Linked DNA regions of Homo sapiens: all the other regions are linked to region 3. The links are contacts of gene promoters, found by promoter capture Hi-C in human tissues and cell types (Jung and others, 2019). All regions are on one chromosome and are shown on one strand. The core of a region is centred on a gene start or on the middle of the fragment in contact, and the rest is flanking DNA. Distances in the headings are between cores, read along the strand shown. Region 1 has its middle 45 kb from the start of SUNO1. Region 2 overlaps LOC105372371 (a long non-coding RNA gene). Region 3 holds the start of CHST8 (carbohydrate sulfotransferase 8). Region 4 has its middle 9.4 kb from the start of CEBPG.

What was found. Contacts are between HindIII fragments. The study calls those that stand out against the background at their distance.
Region 1: a contact is called between a fragment that was not itself captured here and the fragment with the promoter of CHST8 in region 3, in 2 of the 25 tissues and cell types used here (dorsolateral prefrontal cortex and spleen).
Region 2: a contact is called between a fragment that was not itself captured here and the fragment with the promoter of CHST8 in region 3, in 5 of the 25 tissues and cell types used here (IMR-90 fibroblasts, dorsolateral prefrontal cortex, lymphoblastoid cells and 2 more).
Region 4: a fragment that was not itself captured here is called in contact with the fragment with the promoter of CHST8 in region 3 in 2 of the 25 tissues and cell types used here (dorsolateral prefrontal cortex and mesendoderm cells).

Annotation. Positions count from the first base shown.
Region 1 is chr19:33,948,638-33,951,337 of GRCh38, reverse strand. No RefSeq gene overlaps it. Among named protein-coding and RNA genes, the nearest start is that of SUNO1, 45 kb to the right of the region's middle. The HindIII fragment of the contact is 5,935 bases long and covers 1-2,700 here.
Region 2 is chr19:33,998,705-34,001,449 of GRCh38, reverse strand. It overlaps LOC105372371 (a long non-coding RNA gene), which reads left to right. Exons shown (of 3, transcript XR_935921.3): 3 at 1,052-1,212. Among named protein-coding and RNA genes, the nearest start is that of SUNO1, 95 kb to the right of the region's middle. The HindIII fragment of the contact is 5,642 bases long and covers 1-2,745 here.
Region 3 is chr19:33,620,619-33,623,318 of GRCh38, reverse strand. It overlaps CHST8 (carbohydrate sulfotransferase 8), which reads right to left and starts at 1,366. Exons shown (of 5, transcript NM_001127895.2): 1 at 1,023-1,366. RefSeq lists an enhancer at 1,661-2,405. The HindIII fragment of the contact is 24,734 bases long and covers 1-2,700 here.
Region 4 is chr19:33,362,908-33,365,632 of GRCh38, reverse strand. No RefSeq gene overlaps it. Among named protein-coding and RNA genes, the nearest start is that of CEBPG, 9.4 kb to the left of the region's middle. The HindIII fragment of the contact is 9,696 bases long and covers 1-2,725 here.

The DNA of each region.
Region 1 (2,700 bases), core at 147-2,646, 330 kb before region 3:
GGCACAGAGTTGTTTGTTTGAGACAGAGTCTCACTCTGTCTCCCAGGCTGGAGTGCAGTGGCGCAATCATAGCTCCCTGCAGCCTCCAACTCCTGGGCTCAAGAGATCCTCCTGCCTCAGCCTCCCAAGTAACTGGGACTACATGTGCATGCAATCACACCCAGCTAATTATTTTATTTAATTTTTTTGTAGAGACGTGGTCTTGCTATCTTACCGAGGCTGGTCTCGAACTCCTGGCCTCAGGCGATCCTCCTGCCTCAGCCTCCCAAAATGCTGGGATTACAGGCATGAGCAGCGCAAAGTTTTAGTTAAGCAAGATGAATAAGCTCTAGAGCTCTGTAGTAAAAAATCCTGTATTGTCCACTTAAAAAATGTGTTAAGAGGGTAGATCTCATGTTGAGTGTTCTTACCACAATAAAATAACATTAAAAATGCATCTGTTTTAAAGGATAGTTTCCCTGGAAAGGTGGTTCAAAGAGCGTAGGCAAATCTCATCTTACCAAGGAGCTGGTTACGCATGAGAGCAAATAAGAACTGCACATGAAACATGAGAATTAAAATTAGGTGGGTCTTTTTTTTCCCCAACCATCTTACTTTTTATAGTTATTTCGGAGAAATCTGCATTTTTCACTTGGAATGTGCCGTGCCTTTGTCGGCCAGCGATGTATACCAGTCTGCCTGGCTGTTTCCGCTGGCTTGTCAGGCTCACTAATTAGAGAGCTGCAGCGTGATTCACCTTGTTAATTAGAGGGACTTGCACACGGAGCCCTTCGGGCAGTGTATGAGAAAGCCTCGCACCAGTGCCCCGAGAACGATGCAGTCTGTGAAGTCATTCTTCTCATCTACCTTCTATTTTTCATTTGAAATGAATAAATCATCGAGATTTTCCTTGTGGAGTGAGAATGCAAGAATTCACATCTTTGTAAGATGTAAATTACATGTGATCAATAGGAAGCGATGACGCGCGCATTGTACTTACATGATTTCCTAATTTACTCCTTGTCAGTGTCTGAAAAAATGGCCTGAAATATTTGTCTCCTTTCCATGAATCAGTGCCCTTCATCTGGTAAAAGAGGGTGTTGAGTGAGAAACACAGCTGTTTTATTTTAGCTGCTGGAGCCTGGTCCAGTGGTGTGTTGTTTGCTTGCATGGAGAGAGGGGGAAGCTTCTGGAAGCCAGGCCTCTGGAACAATCTCCTTCTCCCCAGCTTCCCCCAGGGGCCTGTCTGCTCGAGAAGAGACAGGGCATAGCAGGTAACTTTGATTGAGGTATTCTTTTGTAATAGAGATCCCCACTTTTTGGAATGGAGGCTTTAGATGTTTTGTGTCTTTTTTAAAAAACATCTTAATTTTAAATAATAATATTTTGGCTGTATTAGACTACGGACCCAGTCACAGAAACAGCAGTGCCTCTGAACAGCATGTTACCTTCTTTCCTATCTGTATAGGATACTCTGGAAATAGTTTCATTGGCTTTCTCCCCAACTACTTGATTAAAATTAAGTGTTGCATTTGAATAAGTTTCAGCAGCTTTCTCTCCAAGTACTTGATTAAAATAAAGTGTTTTAGTGAAACAAGACTAGGAAGAGGCTCAAGATTTCTCATTGGTGAAAAGAAGGATGGTCCTTAAACGTGTGGTTTTCCCATTTAAAAAAAAAAAAAAAAAGCTGAGGGGCTCAGCCCGGTGGTCTGAGGGTCTCTGCTGAGGAGTCTGATTCAATAACCCTGTTATCAGACAGGGGAGTGAAAATTAACCTTTTTGCTCATTCATTGCAGTTTGCAGCAATTGTACATGCTCACTCACAGAGATTTTGGCAAAAGATTTGCAAATATTTCTTTAGAGAAAGGAAAAGATTTTATATCAATATCTTCTTTTCCTGGGAAGGGTGTGGATGGACCAGAGTAGCTGTTTTCTAGAATGTTCTTTCCACCATTCTGAGCATCTGATTTGGTGCCCACGAGCACAAATTGAGCGCAGGCTGCATGCAGAACACCACCCCAGCCTGGAGGGAAACCCAGGACACAGAGACCATTCCTGTCCTCAGGGCCTCATGGGCCCCGTGCAATGGAGAAGCAGCAAATCACTAGCATACGGTGGTGAGTGCTCCAAAGCCCTTAAGTCAGCAGAGGGGAGGCGAGTCAGGACAGAAGTCACAGAGGGAGGGACACTTGTGAGGGCTCCTGGGGAATGGGCAGAGCTTGCCAGGTGCAGAAGGCCTTGCAGGATGGGGGTACAGTCGGTGGGAATGCATGGTCCATTCGGGAGTGTGAGTAGCTTGGGAAGGCCAGAGAATGGGTGAGTGAGAGAAGAGATGGCTGCAAAGGCAGGGAGATAGGGTCAAGTCCCAAAGGGCTGCCATTCCAGCCTCCAAATGTGACCTGGTCGTGCTTCTGGGTGCAGAAGTACTTAGCATGTGCACTGTTGAGCTCTGGCTGGATGGGCAGAGGGGTCAACGTGTGGGCACCCCAGATGGACTTTTTGGCTCAGCAGGAACCCAGGCAGGTCTGTGGGACACCTTAGGAGGATGCAGGAGTGTGTGGGATTTCTTTGACACATTTGCCCTCTGCACAGTTCCAGCTCTGAGTGCAGGAACCAGCAGATATAGGGAGTAAAGAAGGGAGGCCACCAGGCACAGTGGTTTATACCTGTAATCCCAGCACTTTGGGAGGCTGAGGCAGGCGGATCACCTGAGGTCAGGAG
Region 2 (2,745 bases), core at 31-2,530, 380 kb before region 3:
TAGAGATGGGGGTTTCACCATGTTGCCCAGGCTGGTCTCGAACTCCAGACCTCAAGTGATCCAGCTGCCTTGGCCTCCCAAAGTGCTGGGATTATAGGCTGAGCCACCACACCCAGCATTCACATAGTTCTTTAGGCCTTTCCTATATCAGCACATGCTAAACAGCATGGAAGGAGGATGTCCGGCCTTGTGTTGCTGGCTTATATCTGAGACAGATGTTGTGCAAATAACTGTTAGCAATTCAGGTTTGATTTCATTGTCGAAGTGATTTGGGGTCTAAAAGTTTGGCACCATGGGATATGTGAGAAGTGTGTGTTAGGCACATTTCTTTTTTCTTTTTTCTTTTTTTTTTTTTGGAGACGGAGTCTCGCTCTGTCGCCCAGGCTGGAGTGTAGTGGTACGATCATGGCTCACTGCAACCTCCGCCTCCCGGGTTCAAGCCATTCTCCTGCCTCAGCCCCCCGAGTAGCTCAGATTACAGGCATGTGCCACCATGCCTGGCTAATTTTTTTTGTATTTTTAGTAGAGATGGGGTTTCACCATGTTGGCCAGGCTGGTCTCGAACTCCTGGGCTCAAGTGATCCGCCCACCTCGGCCTCCCAAAGTGCTGGGACTACAGGAGTGAGTACCACATTTCTATCTCTGCTTTGTGGTGGCTGCTCCATCAGATTAGTTAGGCTTCTTGGAAATAAAAGATTTGGGTGCATGGAATTATATAGAGAGGCTAATGAGGGTAGAAGGACAATGTACAGCATTTTAAAGACTTAAAAAGGAAGAGAAACTGTATTTTAAACTTGAGTTAGCAATATTATAAGCAAATTGGTTTTTTTTTTTAAAGAAACCTACAGTAGATTTTATTTAAAACTGAATATTTAACGGTTTATTGGGTAAGCCCAAAGGCTTGAAATTACACGTCTATGAATTTAGGCCTTGCGTTTTTGACACCTTGGATCCTATTCTCCTTCCTTTGCTATTTTTTAACTTACTGCAACAGATGAGGGGCTCTTAAACCATCTGTTAACCTTTCTTTCTCCTTTTCTTAACCGTGTAGAGTTGCTCAAGGCAAGAAGACCCGGTGCCAGCAAGACTGAAACAAAAAAGCAAAAGAGGTGAGCATGGAAGAGATCATTGGGTTTGACATTTCAACGCTTGGGCCTATTAATTTTTTATGCCCTGCTACTTGTATATCGTTAATAAAAATCTGACGAAAAACTTTTTAGGATGTATTTGTTGCTTTGGCTTTGATCTTAATGTTTGCAAACTAATACATTAATACATGTGAAGCCTTAAGGAGTTTTTCTAAGAGAATATTTCCATACATTATATTTTCATTTCCATTTTAGGTAGCTGAGCCTCTGTGGGGTTGCAGATGGTAGTGGCATTCGATTTTGGTGGGAAATGTATCTCTTTGCCTGCCGTTAAATGTTACTTCTCAGACAAAACGAAACCTTGTCATCAGTCTTTTACCTAAATTCACTTCTGCAAGAGCCCCACACCTCTAAGGTGGTGTTGTCATTTCAAATTCTTCATTCTAAAAAGATACGTGAAACTCCATTCAGTTATTTGCGATAGTAAAACCAGTCCCAGATCATCTAATAGCAGGGATTGCTGTCTAATTATTAAAATTTCACTTGGATTAGGCTACAGAGATCAGCTCAACTGAACATCATTATTTTTTTTTTTACCCCTTTTTAGGTGTCTGTTCCCTAGTAGCAACATCTGTGACTGAGTTGTGACAAACTCAAAAGTTAAGCCAACACACACGTGTCATCTTTTTATTTATATGTTACCTCTCTGCTCCCAAATATAAGACACAGTGATGGCATGAAAAAATGTTCACAAAAACCCTCTAAGCAACAAATGAGATTTGAGGATCTAATGAATACTTGCATTATATTCGAAAATTTACTTTATAAAATAAGTAGACATGAAACTTGAATGATTACTTATTATTTTATGCCTAGTGTTCCACTATTGGAACACCAAGCCTGTGGGAGTTATTTATATCCTACTGCTCAAGGTCAGCGCCAAGGTCTGATTTTTCACTTATGCAAAAATTCAAAAAATTGCAACCTCCAGCATAAATGGGTTAAAAATGATCACTAACCCAATTTTAAACAGTTCGTGGGTGAATAGACTATTACAATGACCCTCTCAGTTGCACATTACTTTAAAGTGACTGCGAAACTCATTGAATATTTACGATTTATGTTGAGTATAATACTACCTTCAATAGTTTTTGAATTTTTATCCTTGTAAGTAATGTTTGAAATGTCTGTCATTTTCTAATTTATGAGTAATTAATTATTCTGGTAAATGTTAAGTACCTTTTTTTACAGGAGAGTGTATGGAAAGAAAAAGTATACTACACAGAAAAGAAAAATTAATTCAGATTAACCATTAAAATAAACACTGATCAGCATGATGATTATTATGAAAATTTCTTTTACTATTGTTCCCCAAAAGATGGATGAAATTCTTATCAATATGGTTATTTTTTTAGATCCACTAGAGGGAGTAATGCTGTACAGATGTGTATTTTTTAATGAAAAAAATTTGTTTGTTACTGAGTTTGTAAATAAAATTTTGGTAACAGTATTATCAAAATTCACCAGCCATGGAGTTGAGTGTGGCTTTTTATTTATGACTTTTACTAGATGACAGAGGGGAGCTCTATACTTCCACGCATTTGTCCTATTTCTTTCTCTCTCTTCTAATGTAGTTCCTTAATTTTCTAATTCTGCG
Region 3 (2,700 bases), core at 117-2,616:
GTCCTCTGGGACGCCGGAGACGACTGCAGGACAGAGAGCCCCAGGATCGGCGCCTACTTCTGGGTTAAAACAGACAGCCGGGCAGCAGCGCCCACAGCCGAGGGCGCCGCAGCCGCTTCAACTCCGGGTCGGGGTCGCGGGCCTGGAGACAAGATGTACGCGAAAGTTAGGGCGGCGGGAGTCCCGCACTGGAGAAGGAATCGGGGTCACATCAGACCCAAGCCCCAGCATCGGGCACTGCCAAAACCCGTGATCGCCCTCCTGGCCCGGCTGGCCTCCAGCGAGGCCAGAGCGGGTCTGCAGAGTCGGTAGCCGGAGTTGCAGCCGCCGTCAGAGCTCGGCTCGGTCCCGCGGCCAAACGGATCATTTCCCCGCCCCCTGGAGCCGCCCCAGGCTCCGACTCCCGCACTCCCGACACACGCACGCACACACCTTCACACCATCGCTGACGCACGCACACTCGCCTCCAGCACTCACAGGCCGGTGCCCTGGAGAGTTGCGGGTCGGGGACGCGCGCGACGGAGCCGCTGGGTAGGAAGCCAAGGCCACTTAAACTTCCCCCATAGTCTCTGCCCGCCGCAACCCGTCCGGAGCCCCGGCTCCGAGCGCGCCAGGAAGCCCCAGCGCCCCGAGCGCTCCTGCCTGGCCCTCGGCGCTCGCTGCTCAGCGCCCGACGCCGCCTCCCCGCGGGCAGCACCGAGGGCCAGGAGGCGGAGCGGGAGTCCGCAGGGACCAAGAGGGCCCGAGGGACGGCAGTTCCCAGAAGCGCGGCAGCGAGTGAGATCCAAGGAGAGAAAGTCTAATTAAAGTTCCCGCTACCGGGGCCGGTCCCCAAAGTGCAACCAGACCCGAGCCCCGCGCGCCCACCTCCGCCCGCAGCTTCGGACTCCCATTCGCGTGCGGTGGCGGGGATGGCGAGCGGTGCAGTCCGGGGCCCGCTCGGGACCCCTTCCTGGCGTCTCTGCAGGCCAGGAGCCTGCGCAGGGCGGGAACAGGGGTGGGGCAGGGGCGCAGCCACTTACCTGGCGCAGCGGACGCACCCGAGGCCGCGGGCGCCTCCAGTCCGGGAGCGGTTCTCCGCGGCGGATCCTCTGCTTGGGGCGCGCAGGCGGCGGAGAGGACCTCCGACCCAGCTCGGGCCCGGTGCCTCCGCCCGCTCCAAGCGGAACCCAGTGCGATCTGTGGGCGAGCAGCGTGGGGCCGGCAGCCGGAGCGTGCGGGGAGCGAGAGGGCGCGGGGCGGCGTTCCTCTTCGGCCCCCGGCGCGATCGGTCCCCCACCTCCTGCTGCCGCCGCCGCCTCGTCCTCTCTCCTCCCCGCAGCACTGCCGGATCCGGCTTGCGCGCCGGGAAGGCTCCCAGCGAAGTGAGAGCGAAGCCTCCGGCGAGGCTGGAAATAGCGCCGCGCCCGCCCGGCGCCCCGCCCCCGGCCCGTGCCCCGCCCCGCCGTGGTGGCGGCTACGGCGGTGGCCGGGCCGGGCGGGGATCGCTCCAGCGATGCACTCGGCCCTCCCGGGGGCTCGCGGGCGCCGCGCCCACGCGCGCTCTGCGGCTCCCGCGGCCCCTCTGGCAGCGCTCTCAGAAAGAGTCGCTGCTGGGCGCGGTCCGGCGGCCGCGGGGGTGGGAGCGGTCGTGGCTGGGGCTGCGCCGGTCTCCCGGTTCAGGAGAGCCGGACTCCGGCCTGACGCTAGGCTCCAGACCGCGGCCAGTGCTGCCACTGCCTCGGTGGGTCGCACGCGGCGCCAACCCGGGAAAAGGACCAGGCGTCACCGGGGCGGGCCTTGACCACAGCGGGGCAGGGGCGCGCGCCCAGGACCCGATGCTGCGGGGGCGCAGGGCCGGTGAAAGGCGGAAGATTGATCCTGAGGAAGATTCTGGGATATCCCTGGGCTTCAGCTCGCGTGGAATTCGGTCAAGGCCGCGAGCTGCCTCAGGCCCGGGTGTCCGCATCCATCCTCAAATCCCTGGGGCTCTAGATTCTGCTGAAAGTGCCCTGCGAACAGGTGCTCCCTTCAGGACTTCATCCTGGAAGTTTGTGTCGGGTCACCAGCCTGAGAGCGGGGCCAACCGACCCTCTTCATACACACTCGGGAAAACAGCGTGGAGGGTGGAACCGGCCCACGGCCACACAGCACCGGGACAGAGTAGGGACAGGAACACGGGGCCCTGGATTCGGGTCCTTGTTCTTCCTAAGAAGAGGCAGCCCCAGCCTGCAGGGGACAAGCAGGCCTTGGGAAGGGGGGCAACTGCTTTCTCACAGGAGCTGGAGGAAACTGTGCACACAGTCACCTGTTAGTCTTGAAGGGACACTCAGTATTTTCAAACAACAGCAGAGAAGCCTTTAATAAAGTGAAAGACCCTTACTCTCTCCTCTCTAATGGTACCTGCTGGCTGGTTGGCCTGACTCCTACCAGCTGACCTAGAGTGAGTGATGGAATTGGGGAGTGAGCTGGGCCCATGGGTCTTGACTGACCAGAGTGGGGGACACCAGGCGGAGAGCAGAGCCACTCCTGGGGACGGCCAGGGAGCCCCTCAGCCCCAGGGCCATGAGGCCTCCTTAATGCCCCAGGTAAGCTCAGAGCATCCAAAAATAGACCAGGACAGATAAGAAGATAAATAGAAGCATGACAAAGAGATCATGGTCTTCCTTTAATTCTTGCAGCAACAGAGTAGACATTATCACTCCCGTATTACAGATGAGC
Region 4 (2,725 bases), core at 77-2,576, 260 kb after region 3:
ATGTATCAATATATCTTCGTTAACTATAACAAATATATGAATGTAAGGTGTTAGTAATAGGTGAAACTGGGAAATCTATACCTCCTTCTCAATTTTTTATAAATCTTAAGTTGTTTTGAGTCATGCACAGTGCCTGTAATCCTAGCACTTTGGGAGGCTGAGGTGGGAGGATTGCTTGAGGTCAAGTTTGAGACCAGCCTGGCCAACATAGTGAGGCCCCATCTCTACAAAAAAAAATTAAAAATTAGCCGAGCATGGGCGTGTGCCTGTGGTCCCAGCTACTTGGAAGACTGAGGCGGGAGGGTGGCTTGAGCCTAGAAGGTCGAGGCTACAGTGAGCTGCGATAGTGCCATCCCACTCCAACCTGGGCAACAGACCGAGACCCTATCTCTTACAATAATTAATTAAAAATAAAATAGTTCTGAGAAATTTTTTTAAGTATTTGGGATGCATTGCAGTCTTAACATTAACCTAAAACAGTACTGTTTTAAAACATTAACAACCCAGGCCAGATTTTAGCCAAATGGGTAAAGAAGAAAGCAGCAGAAGAGCCTCAGGCCCCACTCCCTCCCTCAGTCCACGAGCGGTGACTGTGCTTCTGCCAGGCAAACCCAAATCATGCAGAGAAATGGAGCAGAGAGGGAGAGTAGATCTACAGGAGCTCCTCCAGGAGGAGAGAGGGATAGAAAGAAGGAAGGGGAGGTGGAGGGGTCCACTTTGAGACTGCAGGGTGACGGAGAAGCCCAGGACACCATTTTTGGGTCTAGTGGGGAAGCCCCATCCTCCGCTGAAGGTCCAAACACCAGGTCAACCCCTGGAAGCCACAAGACTGAGCTGAGAAGGAAATGAGAAGCTTCCCAGACAGAGGGACATGGTTGTCCCTGGCACTCATTCTCCTATTCTCTTTCATCTGTCTCAGTCAATAGATGTTGATTGAATTCCTGCTCTGAGCCAGGCCCTGTCCCAAGTTCTGGGAGTCCTGTGAGGACCAAGCCAAGGGGCTGGAGAAGGGGGCAGGGGGGAGCTGGTGCCCAACAGATGAGACAGGGCCAAGGAGACACAGCCAGGCCAGGTGGGCTTGTGGCCTAGAATCCCTGTGCTTAGCGTCAGGAATCTGCGTCCACTCCTAGGCCGCCGTGACTGCTCCTTTTTCATCTTATTTTTCGTTTAGATTCCCACGGTAATAATCAGTTCCTGTGTCAGCCTCAACTGGGATTCATATTGACTTGGGTTTAGCAGGTGGAGTCGCCAGTCTATTTGCATAAATGTTGGGGTTTTGGCTGGAAGAGGAAGGTGGGGTTGTTGTCTTTCCTTTGCAGAGGTTTCTGGGGGGGAACTGAGGTGCAGAAGAAACTGGGATTTGGGGAGAGACAAGTGCTGTTTTGTAGTCCTTACAAAGAGAGTGACTTTCCCCCCGACCTCCGTGAACGATCCCCTGTGCCTTCAGCCAAGTGGGAACTGGAGTGAATGCAGAAACCACTTTGATGCCTCTAGGAAGTGATTCTTGTAAAAATCAGGAATCCGTGCCCTTGGCATAGGGGTATCAACTTTGTGAAGAAGAAGAAGAAGGAGCTGAAGCAGAGGCTCCACTGAAGCCCTCAGGAGACTTTGGGGGCCTTAAATATGAATGGCCTGGGTACATTATGGGGGGTGCCCAGGAACTCACTAAGGCCGGGCACCCTCAGAAACACTTTGTGGTGGAGGTCAGAGCATTTGTTCTGTTACAGTGAAAAAGATCCAACTGCACCCATAGGTGGGAAGCCCTGAGCCTACTTGAGAGCCAAAAGAGCAAATGGAACATTCCAGTTTAATCTCAGCTAGACGACGGATAAAACTAAAAGTCGCAGCAGCCAGAATGGCTTGTGAGATCGGAGTGTGTCTAGGGCAGAGGGAAGTGGGAGAGGGAAGGAGGAGGATTCTTCCTTCTAGGGAGAGGGAGGTGGAGGATGATCAAGAAAAGCTGGAAATGCCCGCCTCATTCTGATATGCCATCTGGTGGGCCATTTCCTCCCAATTCCATATATCCAAATCCTTCCCATTCCCCAAACTCCAGTCTCAGTCCTGGCCTGTGTGTATACTTTGTTCTTATAGAGAAGATTGTCTCTCTTTCTCTCTCTCTCTCTGTGTGTGTGTGTGTGTGTGTGTGTGTGTGTGTGTGTGTGTGTGCTTTAGAGACAGGGTCTTGCTCTGTCACTCAGGCTGGAGTGCAGTGACACCATCATGGCCTGCTACTACAGCTTTGACCTCCTGGGCTGAAGAGTTAAGAGAGACTCCTGTTTCAGTCTCCTGAGTAGCTGGGACTACAGTTGTGGACCACCATGCCTGGCTAATTTTTCAATTTTTTGTAAAGACAGGGTCTCAATATGTTGCCAAGCTGGTCCTGAATTCCTAGGCTCAAGTGATCCTCCCACCTAAGCCCCACAAATGGGGATTACAGGCATGAGCCCCTGTGCTTGGCAAGACTCTGTTGTATATACATATTACTGTGCTATGTACCTATGAGACTTTAGAAAACACAGCTGGGGAAATGGGTCCCTCCAACCTGAATGTGGGATCTGGGAGGCACACAATGACCTCCACTGCAATCCACTTCTTGCGTCACTCGGATCCACTTCTTACTTACACGTAGTAAGTTAATCCCATCAGTGAACAGCTTCTCTGGGATTCTGGATGGCCTCCTTTCCTGGAGAAGCCTCCAAGAGGACAGCTAGTGGGATGAAGGATG